Regions from separate parts of the Homo sapiens genome. Here region 2 is linked to region 1. Evidence: promoter capture Hi-C in human tissues and cell types (Jung and others, 2019). All regions are on one chromosome and are shown on one strand. Each heading gives the region's core, a stretch centred on a gene start or on the middle of the fragment in contact. The rest is flanking DNA. Distances are from core to core; before and after follow the strand shown. Region 1 holds the start of COG7 (component of oligomeric golgi complex 7). Region 2 overlaps LOC105371143 (a long non-coding RNA gene).

The links. Contacts are between HindIII fragments. The study calls those that stand out against the background at their distance.
Region 2: a contact is called between a fragment that was not itself captured here and the fragment with the promoter of COG7 in region 1, in 1 of the 25 tissues and cell types used here (lymphoblastoid cells).

Annotation. Positions count from the first base shown.
Region 1 is chr16:23,450,251-23,455,562 of GRCh38, forward strand. COG7 (component of oligomeric golgi complex 7) reads right to left here and starts at 2,939. Exons shown (of 17, transcript NM_153603.4): 1 at 2,576-2,939. The coding sequence starts at 2,744. LOC124903667 (a long non-coding RNA gene) reads left to right here and starts at 2,493. Exons shown (of 2, transcript XR_007065030.1): 1 at 2,493-3,015; 2 at 5,220-5,312. RefSeq lists enhancers at 2,599-2,928, 3,219-3,268. The HindIII fragment of the contact is 22,477 bases long and covers 1-5,312 here.
Region 2 is chr16:24,487,808-24,493,050 of GRCh38, forward strand. All of the region lies in intron 1 of LOC105371143 (a long non-coding RNA gene), which reads right to left. Among named protein-coding and RNA genes, the nearest start is that of RBBP6, 49 kb to the right of the region's middle. The HindIII fragment of the contact is 4,487 bases long and covers 299-4,785 here.

The DNA.
Region 1 (5,312 bases), core at 1,689-4,188:
TATTATTAATGTCCTTTCCTCTTTGCCCTACAAAGTTTTCCTTCAAGGTCTAACACAGGGCAAGTGCTTTATGATTCTCCTAAACAAGAAGTAACTGCACCCTCCTGACAGTTCTCACAACTCCAGATTCTATTCTGAGTAAAGCCATCCGTCATTGTAATTTACTGTTTCTATCTTCCCCAAAGGCAGCAAGCTCGAGCAAGATAAACTTTTCCTCCCCACTGCCCATTTCTGGACACATGCATAGTAGATGCTCAATAATTAGTAAAAGATGCAAGGTACAATAAAGAATAAGGGCTGGGCGCGGTGGCTCACGCCTGTAATCCCAGCACTTTAGGAGGCAAAGGCTGGAGGATCGCCTGAGCTCAGGAGTTTGAGACCAGCCTGGACAACATAGTGAGACCCCATCTCTACAAAAAATCAAAAAATTGTGCCATCTGGCATGGTGGCACAAGCCTGTGGTCCCAGTTATTCAGGAGGCTGGGGCAGGAGAATTCCTCGAGCCCGAGAGGTGAAGCTGCAGTGAGCACTGACCACACCACTGCACTGTAGCCTGGGTGACAAAGTGAGACCCTGTCTCAAAAAAAAAAAGAAAGAAAGAAAACAATCTGCAGTGAAATAGAGCCCCCTCCCTACCTTTTCTTAAACAATGGGCACATCTGGCCGGGCACAGTGGCTCATGCCTGTAATCCCAGCACTTTGGGAGGCCGAGGTGGGTGGATCACCTGAGGTCAGGAGTTCAAGATCAGCCTGGCCAACATCATGAAACCCCATCTCTACTAAAAATACAAAAATTAGCCAGGGGTGGGGCACGCACCTGTAATCCCAGCTACTCAGGAGGTAGAGGCAGGAGAATAACTTGAACTCAGAAGGGGGAGGTTGCAGTGAGCTGAGATGGCGCCACTGCACTCCAGCCAGGGGGAAAGAGCGAGACTTCGTCTCAAAAAAAACAAAAAAACAAACAAAAATGGGAACATCTCTTGGACTATCCACTCCCAGTGGAAGCAGTCTGTTTGGTCTTTCCATCTGAGCCTAGGAGAGAGACTTGTGTGCAGTACGTACTGAATCAACACACAGTGAATCAACACACGGTGAATAAAAGTCAAGTTGAGGAGTTACATGAAATGGTTGCCAGTGCATGTTATTTTTTATAATTTAACTTATCCTCAACAAATGGTTTAGGCCAGGCGTGGTGGCTCACACCAGTAATCCTAGGGCTTTGGGAAGCCAAGATGGGAGGATCACTTGAGGTCAGAAATTTGAGATCAACCTGGGCAACATAGTGCGACCTTGTCTCTAAAAAAAAATTTTTTTTTTTAATTAGCCAGGCATGGTGGCACATGCCTATAGTTCCAGTTACTTGGGAGGCTGAGGCGAGCGGACTGCTTGAACCCAGAGTTTGAGGCTGCAGTGAACTATGATGGTATCACTGCATTCCAGCTTGGGCAGCAGAATGAGGAATGAGACCCTGTCTCAAAAAAAAAAAAAAAAAAAAGGTTTAAGTCTCCACTGAGACCAGCCTATCTTCCTCAGCTGAAATAAAATCCACTAAAACAATGTTTTCTAGATCTGTGTCATTCTCTTATACCTATACTATAATACGTTTTTTCCAGATATATGGATCTGTTGGCTATTCTTTCATACTCTCAAAATTCACTTTTTTTTTCTTTTTACAGTTTATTGTTTGGTACAAAACAGGCTCTTTAACTCTTTGAATAAACACCTCACAGACTCGTGCTCCTAGATTACAAAAAGTCAAAGCCAATTTTCTTTGACACTGGGCTCTTGACTCTGAGATTCAAGTCACTATAACAGAAACTGGAGTTGTTTTATCTTATATTCTGGAAGGTGCCTCAACAAAGACATGTTAAGAACTGGTTAAAACTTCTAGCATTTAAAAAGATCCATCTTGTCTTCCAGTGCCTATGGATAATAATAAAAAGGGAATCCCAGAGATCTGCTATTGAATTATTTAGAGAAGAGCTACTGCAATAAGATCCACTCTTTTAAGTTCCAAAAGGAAACTTCAGGCCAGATGTGGTGGCTCACAGGTATAATCACAGTACTTTGGGAGGCCAAGACTGGAAAACCCATTATGCCCAGGAATTTGAATTTGAGACCAGCCTGGCAACACAGTGAGATCCCATCTCTACAATTTTTTTTTTAAACAGAATTTGTGGGGCGCGGTGGCTCGCGCCTGTAGTCCTAGCGACTCGAGAGGCGAGAGGATCGCTTGAGTGCAGGAGTTCGAGGCTGCAGTGAGCTATGATCGAGCCACTGTAGAGAGACCCTGTTTCAAAAGAAAAAACAAAGAGAAAGAAAGAAAAGAAAAAGGAAACTTATAGCCCAGCCAGAGGAGGAAAAACAACACCCAAAATTAGCAAGTGTTCAAGACAGCCCGGCACCCAGCTGAGACTCCCGCTGACGTGATCAGGAGTTCGGGGCTTGCTCTTTTGCCGAGGGTATTTGCTGTCCATGCGTGCCCCGCCCACCTGAGTGCCTCACGCAAGTTCGGTGACCTCTGCCCAGCCGAGAGCAGGGGAGGGTCCCGCGGCCAGGGCCCCGAGCGGCTCACCCTCCACGGCGTGGTTCACCTCTTGGATGAACAGCTGCAGCTTCATCACCAGGGTGGCTGCGTGGCCATCCGCCTTCCCGGACGCCGCCTCCTTGGAGCCGGCCCTGAAGGCCGCATTGATCCACTCCTTCACGTCGAAGTCGTCTGCCAGGAACTTGGAGAAGTCCATGGCGGAACTGCCTCAGGCCTGGCGTCCAGAACTTAAGAGTTGGCTCCGGGCGGCAACGGGGATGCAGAAGCGAGCGAGCCTGCGAGAGCACCGAGGCTAGCCTCCGAGGCGAACCCCAGAAACGCCAGGACGGGTAACTTGCCCCTTTGCGCTTCCCCGCTCAGCGCACTCAGTTTGCGGCTGGGAATGACCCTCGCCGCCCGCCGTTCTTCTTCCGGAAGTCGTTGGCCGTTACCATAGTGACTGCAGGCGTCCGGAGCGCTGAGCAGAGGTGGGTGTGGGAAAACGCCCCGGACTGAGAGCTCCCGGCACCGACAAATATCCCATGTCTGCTAACATTTGCCGAGGACTAAACTATATGCTTACTATAAAGCCCTGACATACATTAGCGCATTTACGCGGTGGCTCGCGCCTGTAATCCCAGCTCTTTAGGAAGCTGACGCGGGAGAATCGCTTGAGGCCAGGAGTTCTAGGACAGCCTGGGCAACAGTGGAGCGCAGTGGGCAGCAATGGAGTGCAATTGAACGATCTCTGCTCACTACAGCCTCAAATTCCTGGGCAATTGAACGATCTCAGCTCACTGCAGCCTCAAATTTCTGGGCTCCAGCGATCCTCCCACCTCAGCCTCCAGAGTAGCTGGGACTACAGGCGCGCGACAACACGCCCGGCTATTTCTTTCTTTTTCTTTCTTTCTTTATTTTTTTCTGAGACGGAGTCTTGCTCTGTCGCCCAGGTTGGAGCGAAGTGACGCGATCTCGGCTCACTGCAACCTCCGCCTCCCAGGTTCAAGCGAGTGTCTTGCCTCAGCCTCCCGAGTAGCTGGGATTACAGGCGCGTGCCACCACGCCCGGCTACTTTTTGTATTATTAGTAGAGATGGGGTTTCACCACGCTGGCCAGGCTGGCCTCAAACTCCCAACCTCAGGTGATCCGCCTGCCTCGGCCTCCCAAAGTGTTGGGATCACAGGCGTGAGTCACCGCGCCTGGCCTAACTAATTATTTTCTTAATGATGTGTTTTGAGGTGCAGACCTTTTAAAGTTTGTTAAGTTCCTTATCACCTTTTTTTATGGATCATGCTTTTGGTGTTGCGGCTGAGAAATCTGTGCATAACCCATAATCACAAACAATTTCTCAGCCTGGGCAACATAGGAAGACCCCGTCTCTGCAAAAAAATTAAAAATTAGCTGAGTGTGGTGGCGCACACCTGTAGTCTCAGCTACTCGAGAGGCTGGGGTGAGAGGATTGCCTGAGCCCAGGAGGTCGAGGCTGCAGTGAGCTGTGATCACGCCACTGCACTCCAGCCTGGGTGACAGAGCGAGACCCTGTCTCGAAAAGAAAAGAAGAAAAGGTAGGGGAAGGTATGAGGGTATTCTTTAGGTTCTAAGTTTTTATGTTGTTTCAAGAGTGGGACCAACCCAAGGGGGAGGACAAGATGTCATCCTTGGAAACCCTACAGGGGACAGTTTTCCAGGTTGGCCTGCCATTGGGGTATGAGTGGCTGGCTGCCATCTCCAGGCCTGATAGTCACTCGTTTTTCATTGGCATCTCCCTTGGTTTGTCTCATTCTTCTGGGTTGAGTAGGTTTTAACTGGGGTAACCCTTCTGCTAGGAGTCCCAGTTATTTGGGGGGAGGGGAGAGGAGGGAAGGAGAGAGGAGGGGAGCAATGCAGGGAGGGGAGACGAGGGGAGCAATCTGATAGTGTAAGTCCTCTTACTTTGCTCTTGTTAAAAATTTAGGCAGGACACAGTGGCTCACGCCTGTAATCCCAGCACTTTGGGAGGCCGAGGCAGGCAGATGATGAGGTCAGGAGTTTGAGACCAGCCTGACCAACATGGTCAAACCCCATCTCTACTAATAATAAAAAAATTAGCTGGGCATGGTGGCACGCGCCTGTAATCCCAGCCACTCAGGAGGCAGAGGCAGGAGAATCGCTTGAACCTAGGAGGCAGAGGTTGCAGTGAACCGAGATCCGCCACTGCACTCCAGCCTGGGCAACAGACCGAGACTCCATCCCCCCCAAAAAAAAAAAAAATCCTGCTGGGATTTTGACAGGGATTATGTTGAACTGTTGAATTGTTGGATTAATTTTAGGAGAATTGCCATCATGACAATATTGACTGTTCCAATCCATAGCATGAAACGCCTCTTCATTTATTTAGATGGGAATTTTTCAGCCTTGGCACTACTGAGCCCAGATAATTTTTAGTTATGGGGGCTGTCCTATGCATTGTAAGATATTTCGCAGCATCCCTGGCCGCTACCCATTAGGAGCAACATCCTCTCCAAGTTGTGGCAACCAAAAATCTGTCCACACAGTGCCAAGTGTTCCCTAGTAGGAATCACCCCTGGGGATTTAGATCTGATTTAGATCTTCTTTAATTTCTCTCAGCAATATTTTGTAGTTTTCATTGTATAATACAAGTCTTGCACTTATTTTGTTAAATTTATTTATTTATAAGTATTTCCTTTTCTAGGTGCAGTGGCTCATGCCTGCAATCCCAGCACTTTGGGAGGCCGAGGCAGGAGGATCACAAGGTCAGGAGTTCCATACAAGACTAGCCTGCCCA
Region 2 (5,243 bases), core at 1,292-3,791, 1.0 Mb after region 1:
ACACCCAGCTAATTTTGTATTATTAGTAGAGATGGGATTTCACCGTGTTGCCCAGGGTGATCTCAAACTCCTGACCTCAGGTAATCTGCCCGCCTCGGCCTCCCAAAGTGCTGGGATTACAGGCATGAGCCACTGCACCTGGCCAACCTGGACTTTTTTCTAAGGTGGAATCACTTATGTCAAGGGTGCTCCATACAAGATTTGTTATTACAACAGATGAGGAAATGTGGCCTCAGACAACATAGTAACTTGCCCACAGTTACAAAGCAAGTATTCGATGCAAGATCTGTTTTGGGTTCCTTGAGATTCTCATAACTGTGGGTTTATACCTTTTTATGAAATTTGAAAAGTGTTCAGTTGTTATTTTTTCAAATACATTTTCTATTCCTCTTACTTCTCACCTCTCCTTCAGAGACTCCGATTATACATATATTAGAGCACCTGATGTTGACCAAACTTTATCATAGATTTTTTTTTTTTTTTTTGGCATTGGGAGGGGGTTGAGTCAGAGTCTTACTCTGCTGCTCAGGCTGGAGTGCAGTGGCACAATCTCAGCTCACTGCAACCACCACCTCCCAGGTTCAACTAATTGTCTGCCTCAGCCTCCAAAGTAGCTGGGACTATAGGCATGCACCACCATGCCCAGCTAATTTTTTATTTTTTTAGTAGAGAAGGGTTTTTGCCACATTGGCCAGGCTGATCTTGAACTCCTGGCCTCAAGTAATCTGCCTGCCTCAGCCTCCCAAAGTGCTGGGATTACAGGCATGAGCCACTGCAGAGAACAGAGGCTCTGTTCTTTGTGTGCGTGTGTGACTTTTTTTTCTTTAGTCTTTTTTCTCTGTGTCTGAATATTTCCCATAGCCTATGCCTTCATAGTGTCTAATTTGCTATTTGCTCCACCATTGTACTGTCATCTCTTGAAGTTTAATTTGGGTCTTTTTTCTCTGTCTCCTATATCTCTCATTAACATGCTCAGGCCTCCATCTTCTTGAGTATATTTCTTTTTTTTTTTTTCCTCTAAACTGAAAGTGGCTTTATTCAGGATTTGCTGATCATAAGAACAAAGATCTCTCCAACTGTCTCAAGAAAATAGGGACTAATTGTAAGAGTCCATGTGGTTGGTGCTAGAATCAAGACAGCTCTGAGGCCTGGGGAGCCCTCTCCATGTCTCTCCTGGAAAGCCCAGCCCCTCCCTCAGGAGTCTCTGCTCTTTCTGTGCATCTATTCCCTGTATAGAGCATATTTCTAATAGCTGTTTTAATGTCCTTATCTACTAATTCTATCATCTGTAACATCTTTGGTTCTGTTTCTATTGGATGATTTTTTTTTCACGATTGGGTCCTACTTTTCTGCTTCTTTGCATGCCTGGTAACTTTTTACTGGACTTCAAACATTATGAATTCTACATTGCTGAGTGCCGACATTTTTTATATTCCCATAAATATTTGGGAGTTTTGTTTTAGCATGCATTTAAGTTATGCGAAACAGTATGAAACTTTCAAGGCTTGCTTTTCAGACTGTTAGCCAGGTCCAAAACAGCCTCTAGTCTAAAGTTAATTTGGCCACCAGTGAGACAATATCCTTCTCAGGACTCCATTCAATGTCCCATATATGAGGAGGCTGATATGGTTTGGATATGTGTTTCCTCCAAATCTCATGCTGAAATGCAATCCCCAGTGTTGGAGGTGGGGCCTAGTGGAGGTGTTTGAGTCACGGGAGCAGATCCCTCACAAATGGCTTGGTGCACTCCCCGTGGCCATGAAAAAGTTCTCACTCTGTTAGGTCATGCAGAAGCTGGTTGTTTAAAGGGGCCTGGCATCTCCTCCTCTCTCTCTTGCTCCCTCTCTCACCATGTGATGTGCCTACTCCCTTTTTACCTTCCGCCATAACTGAAAGCTTCCTGTCACCAGAAGCTGAGCAGAGGCTGGTGCCATGCTGCTTATACAGAATCCTGAGAATCCTGAGCCAAATAAACCTCTTTTCTTTATAAATTACCTAGCCTCAGGTATTCCTTTGGAGCAATGCAAAATGGACTCATGGAGAGGTCTTTCCTTTCTGGTCAGTAAGAACACAATTCCCGATCCTATGTGAGCTCCACCTGGTCCTTCTTGGTGGTCTTTCCTTGGCCTCTGGGAGTTTCTTCACAGGCGTGTACTGATCAGTACTCAGCTAAGAAATGGAGGGGAATGCTCTAAACAGCTCCAAAATCCTTTCTGTGTGGTTCACTCCCTTGCCTTGGCCTCCCCAGACTCTCAATGCAGGGACACTGTCGTATTCTGTTGTGTTTCTCCTCTCTGCATCAAGACCTGTGGCCATCAAAAGACTTAGCTATTTCCTTTCTTTCAGGATCTCTGTATTGTGCTATCTGTGGTTCAATGTCCGGAAATTATTGTTTCATATATGTCATCGGGTTTTTGAGTTGTTTAAAGCAAGAGAGTAAATCTGGTCCCTCCCAGTCTGCCATGGTTGAAAACTGAAGTCTCTGAAGCCAGGATCTGAACCCAGGGAGACTGACTCCTCAGCTTCCTCCCCATCCCTTATCAATCCTTCAGTTCCTTCTCGTGTTTATTCAAATGTCACATCACTACTGAGAGGTCTTTGCACACCACCTCAGCCCCAGCTGCACTCCCTGTCCTCCCTGTTTCCCTCCAAGGAATGAAAGCTCCACAAGGGCAGGGACTTTCGCTTTTGATCCTAAAGACTGAGGTCCGGCACGTGGCTCACACCTGTAATCCCAGCACTTTGGGAGGCTGAGGCAGGTGGATCACCTGAGGCCAGGAGTTCGAAACCAGCCTGGCCAAGATGGTGAAATCCAAAATACAAAAAAATTGCTGGACATGGTGCCACATGCTTGTAATCCCAGCTACTCAGGAGGCTGAGGCACAAGAATTGCTTGAACCTGGGAGGCAGAGGTTGCAATGAGCTGAGATCGTGCCAATGCACTCCAGCCTGGGTGACAGAGTGAGACTCTGTCTCAAAAAAAAAAAAAAAAAAACACTGAGGCTTTGGTCCCATCCCCCAGGAGCCTGAACTGCATGTTAGAACAGAATCTTGAGCTTATGACATATTCAATACATGATTTTTAAATGAATACATAGCATCCTCTGCTCTCCATGCTAACATGCAGGTCAGGTTTACTTAGTGTAAGCAGATAGGGAGGGTCTCCAGAGATTACAAGAATTTAATGAACTTGAGCAATCAGCCTGTTTTATAGCCTCCTGCCCTGAAGTCCTTTTCTTCCTAAACCTTGTATGGAATGCAGTCACCTAATCAGTTAAAACCAGCTCCTGGCAGACTCCCACAACTTACAGATGAACCCAAGTGAACATTCCTCATTACCATGCTAAAGTCTCCACCCCCAGAGGAGCTATAGCTTCATTACCTTAACATGCAACCTATGTGCTGGCATGATAGCTCAGCGCATCTGCACAACTGAGACCCCACTACACGCAATGCTGCACCCTCTCCCTTCTCTATTACCCCATAAAACTCGCCTATCACTTTCCCTTGGGAAGACACTGCTTTGGAGAATACTCTCAATGTTCTCCTTTACTTGTATCAAGTAATAAAACTCCTATTGATCCAAACCTACATCCCTATAAAGAGTCTTTGTTACTTGCCTGATGAAGAACCCCAGTTTTGTTTTGTTTTGTTTTGTTCTTTGGGATGGAGTCTCGCTCTGTTGCCCAGGCTGGAGTGCAGTGACGCGATCTCAGCTCACTGCAAGCTCCGCCTCCCGGGTTCACGCCATTCTCCTGCCTCAGCCTCCTGAATAGCTAGGACTACAGGCGCCCACCACCACACCTGGCTAATTTTTTGTATTTTTAGTAGAGATGGGGTTTCACCGTGTTAGCCAGGATAGTCTCGATCTCCTGACCAAGTGATCCACCCACCTCAACCTCCCAAAGTGCTGGGATTACAGGTGTGACCCACCTCACCTGGCCAAGAACCCCAGTTTTTTAGAACAACATTAGCATCTGTGCTCTAGAAAACATCCCACAATGGGCAAACCAAGGACAGATTCTCCACTAAAAGAGAACAAAGCTCATTTCCCCAGGAGAGATTAAGTTGGAGCTGGACACAAATAGCCCTGGGCCTTACAGCCATCTTCTGACATTAGTCACGGGAGTGAGGTCACCCCAGAACACAGAGGTTCAGAGCTCTAGAGCTCCACTGTCCATTGCAGTATCCATGGGCACATGTGGCCATTGGGCACTTGAAATGTGGTCAGTCTGCATTAAGTTGGGATCATTAGTATAAATTACACCCCAGTATTTTAAAAAACTTTAGTATGGAAAAAGAAAATAACGATGTTTTATATTAATAGCACACTGAAGTAACAGTAATTTAGTCATATTGGGTTAAATAAAACATTATGAAAATTGTCAGCCGGGTACAGTGGCTCACGCCTGTAATCCCAAAACTTTGGGATGCCGAGGCAGGCGGATCACTTGAGGTCAGGAGTTTGAGAACAGCTTGGCCAACATGGCAAAACCTCCTCTTTATTGAAAATACAAAAATTAGCTGGGCGTGGTGGGGGGCACCTGTAATCCCAGCTACTCTGGAGGCTGAGACACGAGAATCACTTGAACCCGTGGTAGGGGGTTGGAGGTTGCAGTGAGATGAGATTGTGCCACTGCACTCCAGCAGCCTAGGCAATAAAGCGAGACTCCGTCTCAAAAAAAAAAAAAGAAAAAAAAAAAAGAAAATTGTCATGGGTGTCTTTTATTTTTTGGTTGGAGTCAGTGGTGTGATCATATCTCACTGCAGCCTCAGCCTCCTGGGCTGAATCCATCCTCCCACCTCAGTCAGCTAATTTTTTTTTTTTTTTGAGACGGAGTCTCAAAATTTTTTAATTTTTTGTAGAGACAGGTTTTGCTATGTTTTCCAGGCTGCTCTCAAAATTCTGGCCTCAAGTAATCTGCCCTCCTCGGCCTCCCAAAGTGCTAGGATCACAGGCGTGAGCCACCGTGCCTGGCCTCATATTTATTTATTTATTGAGACAGAGTCTCACTCTGTCACCCAGGCTGGAGTGCAGTGGCACGATCTCGGCTCACTGTAGCCTCTGCCTCCTAGGTTCAAGCGATTCTCCTGCCTCAGCCTCCCAAATAGCTGGGACTACAGATGTACGCCACCACCCCCGGCTAATTTTTATATTTTTTTAGTAGAGATGGGCTTTCACCATGTTGGCCAGGTGGGTCTTGAACTCCTGAGCTCAGGCAATCTGCCCACCTCCACCTCCC